2 separate regions of the Homo sapiens genome follow, and region 2 is linked to region 1. Evidence: promoter capture Hi-C in 16 types of primary human blood cells and fetal thymus (Javierre and others, 2016). All regions are on one chromosome and are shown on one strand. Each heading gives the region's core, a stretch centred on a gene start or on the middle of the fragment in contact. The rest is flanking DNA. Distances are from core to core; before and after follow the strand shown.

Region 1 (6,734 bases), core at 1,201-3,700:
TAGAGACAAAGTCTCATTGTATTGTCCAGGCTGGTTTTGAATTCCTGGCCTCAAGTGATCCTCCCACCTTAGCCTCCCAAAACACTGGGATTACAGGCATAAGTCATCATGCCAGGCCAAGAACTCTTAAATTTTGAACATCACTTTGTTAATAATAAACAGTTTTTAGTTGAATTCCACAAATGTGGCAGCTTTTTATAAATTTTCTTTTTCCTTTTTAAAACTTCCATTGCATCCAAGAATATCACTCTTTTACCAGAAGTTCCAGTTGTGTGTGTGGTATTTCTCTTTTTCTCCCCCTGTTGTTTATTCTGTTTTTACTTTCTTCTTCTGGCTTGGCCTAAAACCTGAAAACCTACCCTTTACCAGAATGACTCAGAAAAATCCACAATTTTAGGAAACACTTCTGACATGTCTCAGGTAAAAATTGTGTGTGTGCATGCATGTGTGTATATTTACCTATAGTAAACTAGCTGGCTAGTTCTGTACCACACTGATGTGCCTGCATGTTGCATTATGAATATTTTTATTTGATAAAGAACAAATGGTTAAGAAACCCAGTGGTAGGGCTCTCATGTTATATAAAGCTAAAAACAAAGAAATAAGAAACAATGAAGAATGAAAAAAGAGACAAGCAGGGGTTGTCACATTTTCTCAGTGTAGACAGCGTCTCCTTCTGCCCCTGCCTGGCACCGGCCTTTCCTCTACCACCAAAATCACACACCTTGGAGAACCCCTTCCTTGAGCTCAACATCAATATTTTCCTAGAACCAAGAGAAATTTGAGAGCTAGGTAGGATTTTAGAGACCACGTAGTTCAAGCCTTCATTTTATAGAAGAGAAAACCAAGGATCAGAGTGGGCATCATCCAGATTCACTCAGTACGTGGCAGGCAGACTGGGTCTTATGGAATAGGTCAGCTCTGGTGGTTCTTAATTTTTCAGTCTTGGGCCAGGCACATTAATGCCACCCAAGGTTCGGTTCAAGTCAACAAACAAGTGAAGCAGCAGTTTCTGTGTGCTGGAGTATGCAGAGAGGGCTAGGACTTAGCGATGCGGTGGGCACAGACTATCTTCACGGTCACTTTGAACTAATCTTGGGGTGGGGGTTGAACAACCACAAAGAAAGAGCTCTGCTATCCCCAGTTTCACCCTATGCCCTTGCCAGAAGCAGTTACTCTCTGACAAACAAATGTCTCCCTGTGCCTCAAAGCTGACACATCTACAGCAAGGCTTATGTGTGCTGAAGTTAACATCCCAAGAATATCCTGGAAGCTGCACCTGAAGAGCTTTCCAGCAGAAGTCAAAAAGCACTTTTCATACCCCAGATCACTAGTAAAATGAAGCAGTGCTTAGCATTTTAATACAAGGCAATATCAAGATTTCAGGTCAACTAATATCCTCTATTTTATTACACGAAATAAAATATATTCTATTGCCAGCATGTATTAGAAATTTGTGCAATTGGAGAGACCTGAAGTCTTCAATTTTCCATGCTTCAGCTATTACTTTTAAAAATAATATGAAGTGTTGGATATGGATATAGAAGAAAGCATTTAAACACTCATGGTCTAGCATAATAAAGAGACTTTCAGCATTGACACTTATTTGGTACTTACTATAATCTTTATTTTAGGTAGTTTTTGATTTTAAGTAGCAGGAGATGCCCAGTTTTCTTTAAAGCTGTAATTGGAAACAAAGAAAATGCTGTCAGATATTCCTGTGTCCTGGTTAAAACACTTCCCTCCTTGGAAAACACTACTCCCAGAAGTCTTGATTCCAGACTCCAGAGAGTGCAGCTGCAAGGAAGCTGCCAAATTCGTGGCTTCAGTTGTGACTGACTTGTTCTCCCGATGGGTGCACAAGAACATTCCCTTCAGCATGACAGCACACACAGAGGAGTCCATAAATCCATCACTGGAAAGGGCCATTCCCAGTGGCCCACTTTTTTCTTTTGAGTCTTGTAGACACTCGCCTCGAACTTATTTCAAGAACACAGCCCAAATTATTATTTCAAGAACACAACCTGAAACTCCTAATAGTGTTGATTAACCCAGAATCATTGAGCACATTGGGTGGACACCTCCCTGCAAACCCTCTTCCACATCAGCTCAGGTGCTGCATGCACCTTGCTTCAGAAATCACGAATAAAGGCATGCCTTTGAGCTTCCAGGAAGAAGCCTGTGGCTTTGGTAAATTGCTTTCTAGTCTACCAGAACTCTGATTTTGCTACTTCTGATCAATTCCGGTGATATAAAACATTTTCTTCATTAAGAAAAAGAGCAAAACTTAGAACTGTGAAGACAAGCCCCAAATGATGAATAGTTGGAAATGAATAGAAATAAGGATGAGTACTTACACCACTCTAGCTGGCTTCCTGGCAGCAGAAGGCAGTGGCTGATAAAGATTTGCCCACCTCCACGACAAGGGAGAGTGCTTCTCAGGAGATGGTGCTGGAGGGAGGCACCTAACAGTTATATACTCAGAGCCCCACTCTGCTCTGTGTGTTTGTGGGCTCGGCTTTCTCCTCCCACTTCAGGCATCAATGCCAAAGCAACACCAAGGAACTGGTCCCCTGGCTTCAGTACCCGATGTCTCTCTCTCTGTTCTTGACAGAGTACCAACTGCTTTGCCACAGTTTCCACAGCATTCCAAGGTCTTTGACCAGCAATAATCCTACCAAAATGCATCTTTTTCTTCTCCTGTTTCCTCTGGCCCCTACTCATATTTTTGGAAAGATTTACAACTGAAAAGGATCAACACGGTGTCAAACTAAAAACCATGGGGCAGGTTGCTGCTGTGTGGACTCGGAAGCTAAGCGACTGCTCCTGGGGTGAAATTTTCTTAGACTTGGCACAACTTCTACACAGATGTAAGACTCCAGCAAGGGCCTGAGGGGCTGTTGGGAGGGTGGGGAAGATAAGGTACATGCAAGTTGTTTTCTGAAGGCCAGCTGCCTTTTTCCCAGTGAGGAGAAAACAAAAATATCAGTGTTTCCCTGGAATGTCTGTCTTCCCAGGTGAGAATTCTTGGACATACTCTGCTGCCTCTTTAAAAGTCAGGAAGCAAACATTCTATAGCAGGGAAATCTAAAACTGAATTAAAATATCTCCTCCTTCCCCCTTCTTTTTAAATTTCAATTTTGTGGCTTGTTCTGTTATGGCAAAAATCTAACTCAAATCTACTTTTATGAGTGCAGAATTTTAAAAAAATATATGTGTATATATGTATATGTGTGTATATATGTAACATATATACATCTATATTACATACATACATGTATATATGTAGATATATACATATAATAAATATACATATATACATATATTACATATGTGTAGATATATATGTGTGTATATATGTAATATATATACATATATACATATACTTTTAAATATATATATAATATATATATGTAATCCCACAGCCAGCCATGCAGATGTCATAGGTCTTTTATCTGGGTCTCCTGCCTGCTTGGATGTGCAGATAGTACTTATCAGCCTTCAGCTAGGTGGCCCATGGCTGGGAGCTCTCTGGCTCCACCCGCTGGACACCCGCCAGACCACAGGGTTCTTGCCGGCTTGGGACATCCTTCCTCCAAGTGCCTCCCGAGCAGCTGAGGTAGGGTGTGTATAGGTCTAGGTTCATAATAAGAGTTTCCAGGTTCAGGCAAATCTCCTTCCAACATTTTTTCCCTGGTAAAATAAGGAGAAAATAAGCTCCTCGGGTTTCCCTGAAGGAGAAAAATGAATCTTCAGGAGACAGTGTGAGTGGCCTGCTTTGGGAATGAAAGGAATCATACTAGTGTCTCCATGACTTCCTTATGCAAATGGACCACTGTCCCTGATAGAAATAATCATGCTAATGATGGTAATGAGAATAATAACTGCCACAAATGGTAGAGCATTTGCAAAATTCCTATATTATACTATTGTCCCCATTTTGTAGATGAGCAATCTGAGGCTCAGAGTTTAAATAACTTGCTCAAAGTCTGACTCAAAGTTTGTACTTTTAGCCACTCCAGTGCTGTCCAATATTTCCAACTTCTGCCTGTATGTTTGCTTTTCATTAATTCCTTCACTCAACTTGGCCATGATGCATATTTATGGACCTCATCCTGAAGCTGCCTCCACATGACACCCATGGAGCCTTCTGCCTCAGTCGCACTGGTCAGGGCTGAAGGTGTGTAGTGAATCTCAGACCTCCTTGGAAAAACCACCTCTTTCTGTACCCACCCTCCCTCCCTGGCCTTTCTCCTGGTCCCTGTAAAGCCACACCTTAAGTGGGGGGCCACAAATTACAGCCTTGCCATATTGTATGCACAAGGCAGCACAAGGCACATGGAATTCCAAGTCAGATAAACCTGAGTTTGAATACTAGCTTTTCTCTGACAAGCTGTATGACCTTAGGCATGTTACTCACAGTTTCTGAGCCTCAGATTCCTCAGTGTAAAGTGGGGTAACTTTTCTTCCTTTATAAAGTTGTGATGAGGGATGACATCTTCAAAGCACCGTGCCGAACATGTAGAGGTGCCCCCATTCTGATGTCAGCCCCTCTCAATCAGCACTGGTTTACCTTGGGGGTTTCCAAATGGAACCTTCCTCCTGGCTTGAATAAGGGGACAAACTTCTCCCTGCTTTGACATCAGAAGGGGTGCAGTTATGAGTACAGAGGAAACCATTTGCTTCATTCAAGAACTGTGAACTAGGTAGCTTTCTGATGCAGGGCTTGCCAAATTCTCATACTGCAGGATTCTGAGATGCCAGGGTCCGCTGCCACCCTGTTGCTGTAGACAACTGGGCACTCATTGCGTGCATACATGTGTTCTCGGTGCTTTTAACAGCCTAATTGCACAATACAATGAACTTTTCTCTGTTCTTTCTACAGTAGCTCCTTTATTATTTCCAGAGAGTCATTTGCTGAGTATGCCCTAACATTGCCTTTCCTTGGTCTTTCCCTTGCATCTCCTCTTTGGGTGCCCCTCTCTGTTCCCATACCAAGTGAATGCACCTTCCATCTCTCTGCCTGGAACAATCACAAATGAACCTACATAAAGCTGCTCTCCTCTTCGACTTTCTTCTTGGAGTTTCTGCCCCTAGAATGTTTTCTCTCTCCTCCCCCTCCTCATACTCTGCCCAAATCTATTTGGATTTCGCAGTGGGCTTCTGTGCACTTAAAGCAGTTTACATCTCTATTCCTCACTGGCCATGAAATCATGCCGCCTAGCTCTGCAACAGTTCTGGTACTGTCTTATTTTTTAGAATATATCTTACGATGCACAGTCCCATCTGGGCCGGAAGGTACCGGATGATGAAGTCAGGATCCAATAGCTCTCTCCATTCCTAATGGACCTCTCTTTCCAGAAAGATTTTGAGGCAGTTCATCAAATATACGTAAGAGGACATAAGAACTAGGTGACAAAATGGAGAAAGGAGAATGCAACTATGGATAAAACACAATTTTCATATTTTTTCTACAATACCTTGCATTTGTTGGTATTTCTAAATTTGTGTTGTTTTAATCAGAAATTATAACACTGTTTCATTTGATTGCTGCTTGATATTGATCTACGCATAGGCAGTTTAATGTTATAAATAATTGGCACCTCAAGATTATGTAATTGGGCAGTGCCCTCACTGAGGACTTCTACAAGACATTCTCATGCTTTTCTGTCCCCTCACCCCCCCACGAAGAGAGTGGCAAGGACTGCAAGTCTGGAACAGAATGTTCCTTTGCAGTGAGTTCTGAGCCTACTGAGTTCTTTGGTTTGGTAAACAGTCAGATAAAAAGGTACCAGACGAGAGCCAAAACTCCCAGAACGACACTTGGAGGGGACCCTTTGATGTAGGCATTCCCTAGAGTGAAGCCAAGGATCAAGGCAGCGCAGAGAGTGCAAAAGTCTCACTCAAACCTCCACTGCCTGCCCTTGCTGGGGGAACACAATGACGGGTGATGAAAGGAGGCACTGAGGTCCCTAAGTTTTTAGCTCCCCTTAAATGCAGTCCTGAAATTATTCCATCCATTTTAGGAGTAAACGGGGATCAATAGCTGGGAGCATCCAGAGATGATGTTCCTCCTGCACAAAGCAGAGGGTTCATGTAATCTCCATCCCTACCTACAACTTTCATCAGATGCCCATCTGTCACCTTTCCAGCTTTTAAATTAAAATCAGACCAGTGTAAGGCTCATAATGTAGTCTCTGGTGTCATGGGCCAATGCGTAAGGGTGTGCAGGTTGTGCACTGCACAAATGCACCACGTCTAAGGGGGTCACTATTAATGTCCTAGAAATTTGTGTGTTTATTGCAACAAAGTTCTTGAAGATGGTACTAAAATGTCTTGAGAAAAGGGGTGCTAGTGTGTCTGTGCAAGGAGCCATATTGTCTAGCAATACCTTGAGCTTTTAAAAATTTTCATTTTTATTTTTTTTGAACACCGAGAAGCCAGCTTTTGTTTCTTTTTCTTCTTCTTCTTCTTTTTTTTTTAGACAGAGTCTTGCTCTTTTGCCCAGGCTGGAGTGCAGTGGTGTGATCTCAGCTCACCGCAACCTCCACCTCCTGGGTTCAAGCGATTCTCCTGCTTCAGCCTCCTGAGTAGCTAAGATTACAGGCATGCACCACCATGCCCAGCTAATTTTGTATTTTTAGCAGAGACAGGGTTTCACCATGTTGGCCAGGCTGGTCTCAGACTCCTGACCTCAAGTGATCCATCTGCCTCAGCCTCCCAAAGTGCTGGGA
Region 2 (3,232 bases), core at 504-3,003, 160 kb before region 1:
TTTCAGCTGTCTTGAAGTGGGGTGGGAAAGGACTGGCTTACTCTGCAGACGACAGATCTGGCAAAGCAAGGAGGTTGTGCCTTATGATATGTTTAATATGACAGTTTGTTTCTCTGTAGTTCCAAACATTTTGGGAGTTTTTCCTTTCTAAGTCTTTTACTCTTGTTTTTTGCAAATTAATTTTATCCATATGTAATGATAGACTTTATTTATATTTACCAAGGGAAAGAGCAGCATTACAATCTCCACATTCCTGCCACTTCTGTTCCCCCTTCTTACAATTTTCTATAGCAATTTTAGAGTTTAGAGGAGAAATAAATAGGGTAGGCTTTTTTATTTTTGGAGTTTCGCTAGGCAGTAATTTTATTAAAATTTGATAAATGAGATAGTATTTACTTTTTAATGCAAACTTCATACGGTTTATAGATATAATAGCAAATGAAATTTTGCTTTATACCAAATTTTTGTGTTACATCATAGAAATAGTTTAATGGATAAGTTAATGATCCAGTGTATCGGGTTGCCCAAAGGACCTTGAAATGTGCAGCCTCTCATTTTGAAAGCACTTCAAGCTTTAATTGTTTCCCACAGAGGCAGGTTGCAGGGTGGGTGGAGAATGGTGGAAGGGAAATACATTTGTACAAATGCCAATGAATATGTGCATAGCTAATTTTTTCTCTAAGCTTTTAAAGTTTCAAATAGTGTGTGTTGTGGATTTTTCCCTGAAATCTTTTAAAGAGATTGTAAACCATTTATATTAGACCACTATTGACTGGAATTTAGCTAGAAATTTGTTCTTACCAAGAAAAGTAATTCAGACTTAAGAATAACAATATGATACCTCTCAGATGTCATGAGCTTCAGCCTCCTGGTTTCTTTCTCCTCCTTGGCTACCATGTTGATGTTCCCTTGGGAGCATCCTTTGCTCTTCTACTGCATTCATTCCCTCTGGGTGAGCCCGTTGTTTTCCCTGATGTCACTGCCACCTTCTAGGCATGTGTGATTTCCAGTGATAGCTTAATTTTGGGGCGCTGTCCTAAGATCCAGACCCCAGTGGCCATTGGACACAGACTGGCACTGTCCCCAGGTACCTCACACTGGACATATTGTAACTGGCCTCACCATCGTTCTCCTCAGACCTGCTCCATGAACCTGTTATTTTAGTTGATTCTCATGTTCGCTCTGGGTGGAAAGTACTTTAGGAGATATTATTCCTGTCCTGTGGGATGGGAAGTTATTAAGTAGCAGAGTTGGGACTAGTTCAGAATATGGGCTGCTGGACTTGTCCAGCGTTTCCATGCTGCCTCTGGGTCTTGGTTTCGGGGAATTGGGGGGCCGGTAGGAGACTCCTTCTGGAGAGCCCAGGCCCTGAGTTGCCTTCATCATGTGGTTTCCGTTGTCCTGTGACTGTTGTTTCTGTCACACTCATAGATAGCTGTGGTCCCCCAGCCAGGAGAGGCACTGCCACCATTCCCCAGTCAGGGTCGGAGGGTCAGGTCTCCCACCCCTCTGAGTGTAGCTCCACCAGCTTCAGCAGCGCTCACTCCCAGCAGGGTTACCAGGAACCAGGAAAACCAAATGTGCAGGTGGCCAGTTCTTCTCTTAGGTTCTCTTTACTTGGGCCTCCTCACCCCAGATATCCCTGTGAGTTTGTTTTGGATTTTGGCTTTATTTTTATTCCTTTATAAGGTGCTCATATTCTTTGTTACAAGTTAAAATATTCCTTTCGGGAAAGCCACTGACTTGCTCTTCCTGTCCCTGCTGGCAGGCTCCGCGGAGCAGCTTCTGAGCCCCGAGTGTTGGAAGGCCACTCTGAGAGCCCTGGGCTGCTGCGCCCCCAGCTGCCAGCAGGGGGCAGCGTCCACCGAGGGCGCCGTGCTTCCCAGCTCTTCTGATGCTCTCTTGTCAGACAAGCAGGTGTGTAGCCTTTGGTCTCTGACGTGTTTGTGCATTTCTTTTTATTTCCCTTGCTATTCATTTTTTAAGCAGTTGGAAAACTTGTGCATTATCTTTAAGAGCCATGTGTTTTTCTTTGTGTTAAGTGCTTTGGTTCCCTCGTGTCCCCTTTTTCCAGATGGCTCACCCCATTCCCCTGAGTCTAATTCTTGCCCATGTATCCAAGACAAGGGCAGGCACTCCCCTGTAGATCTTTCCTGCCCACCCTAGCCCATCGGACTCCACCCTGAGACCTCTGGTCGGGTTTCTATGATGCAGTGTCCCATGGAGCTCTGGGTTTTATCCTTTCTGTTTGATATGCATTTGCATGAGAATTTATTTGAAATAATGGTTCCACTGATTTAGAAAAGGTTTGAAACCCACTGATGGCCTGGCGCGGTGGCTCATGCCTGTAACCCCAGCACTTTGGGAGGCCAAGGTGGGCGGATCACTTGAGGTCAGGGATTCGAGACCAGCCTGGGCAACATGGTGAAACCCTGTCTCTACTAAAGAATACAAAAATGAGCTGGGCATGGTGGTGCACGCCTGTAGTCCCAGCTACTCAGGAGGCTGAGGTAGGAGAATCGCTTGAACCCAGGAAGCGGAGGTTGCGATGAGCCAAGATCGTGCCACTGCACTCCAGCCTAGGCGACAGAGCAAGACTCTACCTCAAAACAAAAACAAAAACAAAAAACCATTGATTTATTTCTCATATGCTTTATATTTTTGCCACTCTCTTATAAAGTCAAAGACCTACTATATACACCCCCATCACAGTGTATCATAACACTTTACTAAAATACATATTTAGTAAGCATTTTTTGACTAGTTGTCTCTTCCAGGTAATGGAGACTATACAGTGGCTTTCAGACTTTTTTTATAAGCTTCGGTTATCCAAGATGGACTTTAAAAGCTTTGGTTTATTCTCAAAATGGAGTCCTTATATGGCTGATGTGAAGACATTCTTGGGCTACCTTGTGAAAAGGCTGATTGACTTAGAAATGACCTGTTTGGCCCAAGACCCAACTGCCAGCAGGAAAACAGGTAATATACTTCTCATGCGATGTGGAGCTAGGTGTTTGGACTTTCCATTAAGAGAGATTTAAATAGGCACATTAAGAGATTTATATTGAGTGTCAAGGAGAGAAAGTAGAAATATATAGAACAGGCATGAGCCCATATATGTGTCATATATGTCACAATATATGAATGGATATATTCATTACATAGTGAATGTAGGGTGCTTGCTATAGCTTGTCTCTGCCCCTCCTTTGCAGGTTGGGGTACAGAGAGGTTT

Evidence for each region. Contacts are between HindIII fragments. The CHiCAGO score rates a contact against its expected background, and 5 or more counts as called.
Region 2: a contact is called between a fragment that was not itself captured here and the fragment with the promoter of SLC14A1 in region 1, in 4 of 17 cell types (endothelial precursors, M0 macrophages, M2 macrophages and 1 more). The highest score is 6.4, in endothelial precursors.

The regions. Positions count from the first base shown.
Region 1 is chr18:45,719,897-45,726,630 of GRCh38, reverse strand. SLC14A1 (solute carrier family 14 member 1 (Kidd blood group)) reads right to left here and starts at 2,450. Exons shown (of 10, transcript NM_015865.7): 1 at 2,358-2,450; 2 at 1,618-1,681. The region is part of intron 6 of LOC105372093 (a long non-coding RNA gene); the gene reads left to right. LOC105372092 (a long non-coding RNA gene) reads right to left here. Exons shown (of 4, transcript XR_935422.3): 2 at 5,272-5,408; 3 at 4,421-4,634; 4 at 3,596-3,693. The HindIII fragment of the contact is 29,148 bases long and covers 1-6,734 here.
Region 2 is chr18:45,878,760-45,881,991 of GRCh38, reverse strand. EPG5 (ectopic P-granules 5 autophagy tethering factor) reads left to right here. Exons shown (of 44, transcript NM_020964.3): 32 at 1,769-1,917; 33 at 2,778-2,979. Among named protein-coding and RNA genes, the nearest start is that of SIGLEC15, 55 kb to the right of the region's middle. The HindIII fragment of the contact is 2,136 bases long and covers 686-2,821 here.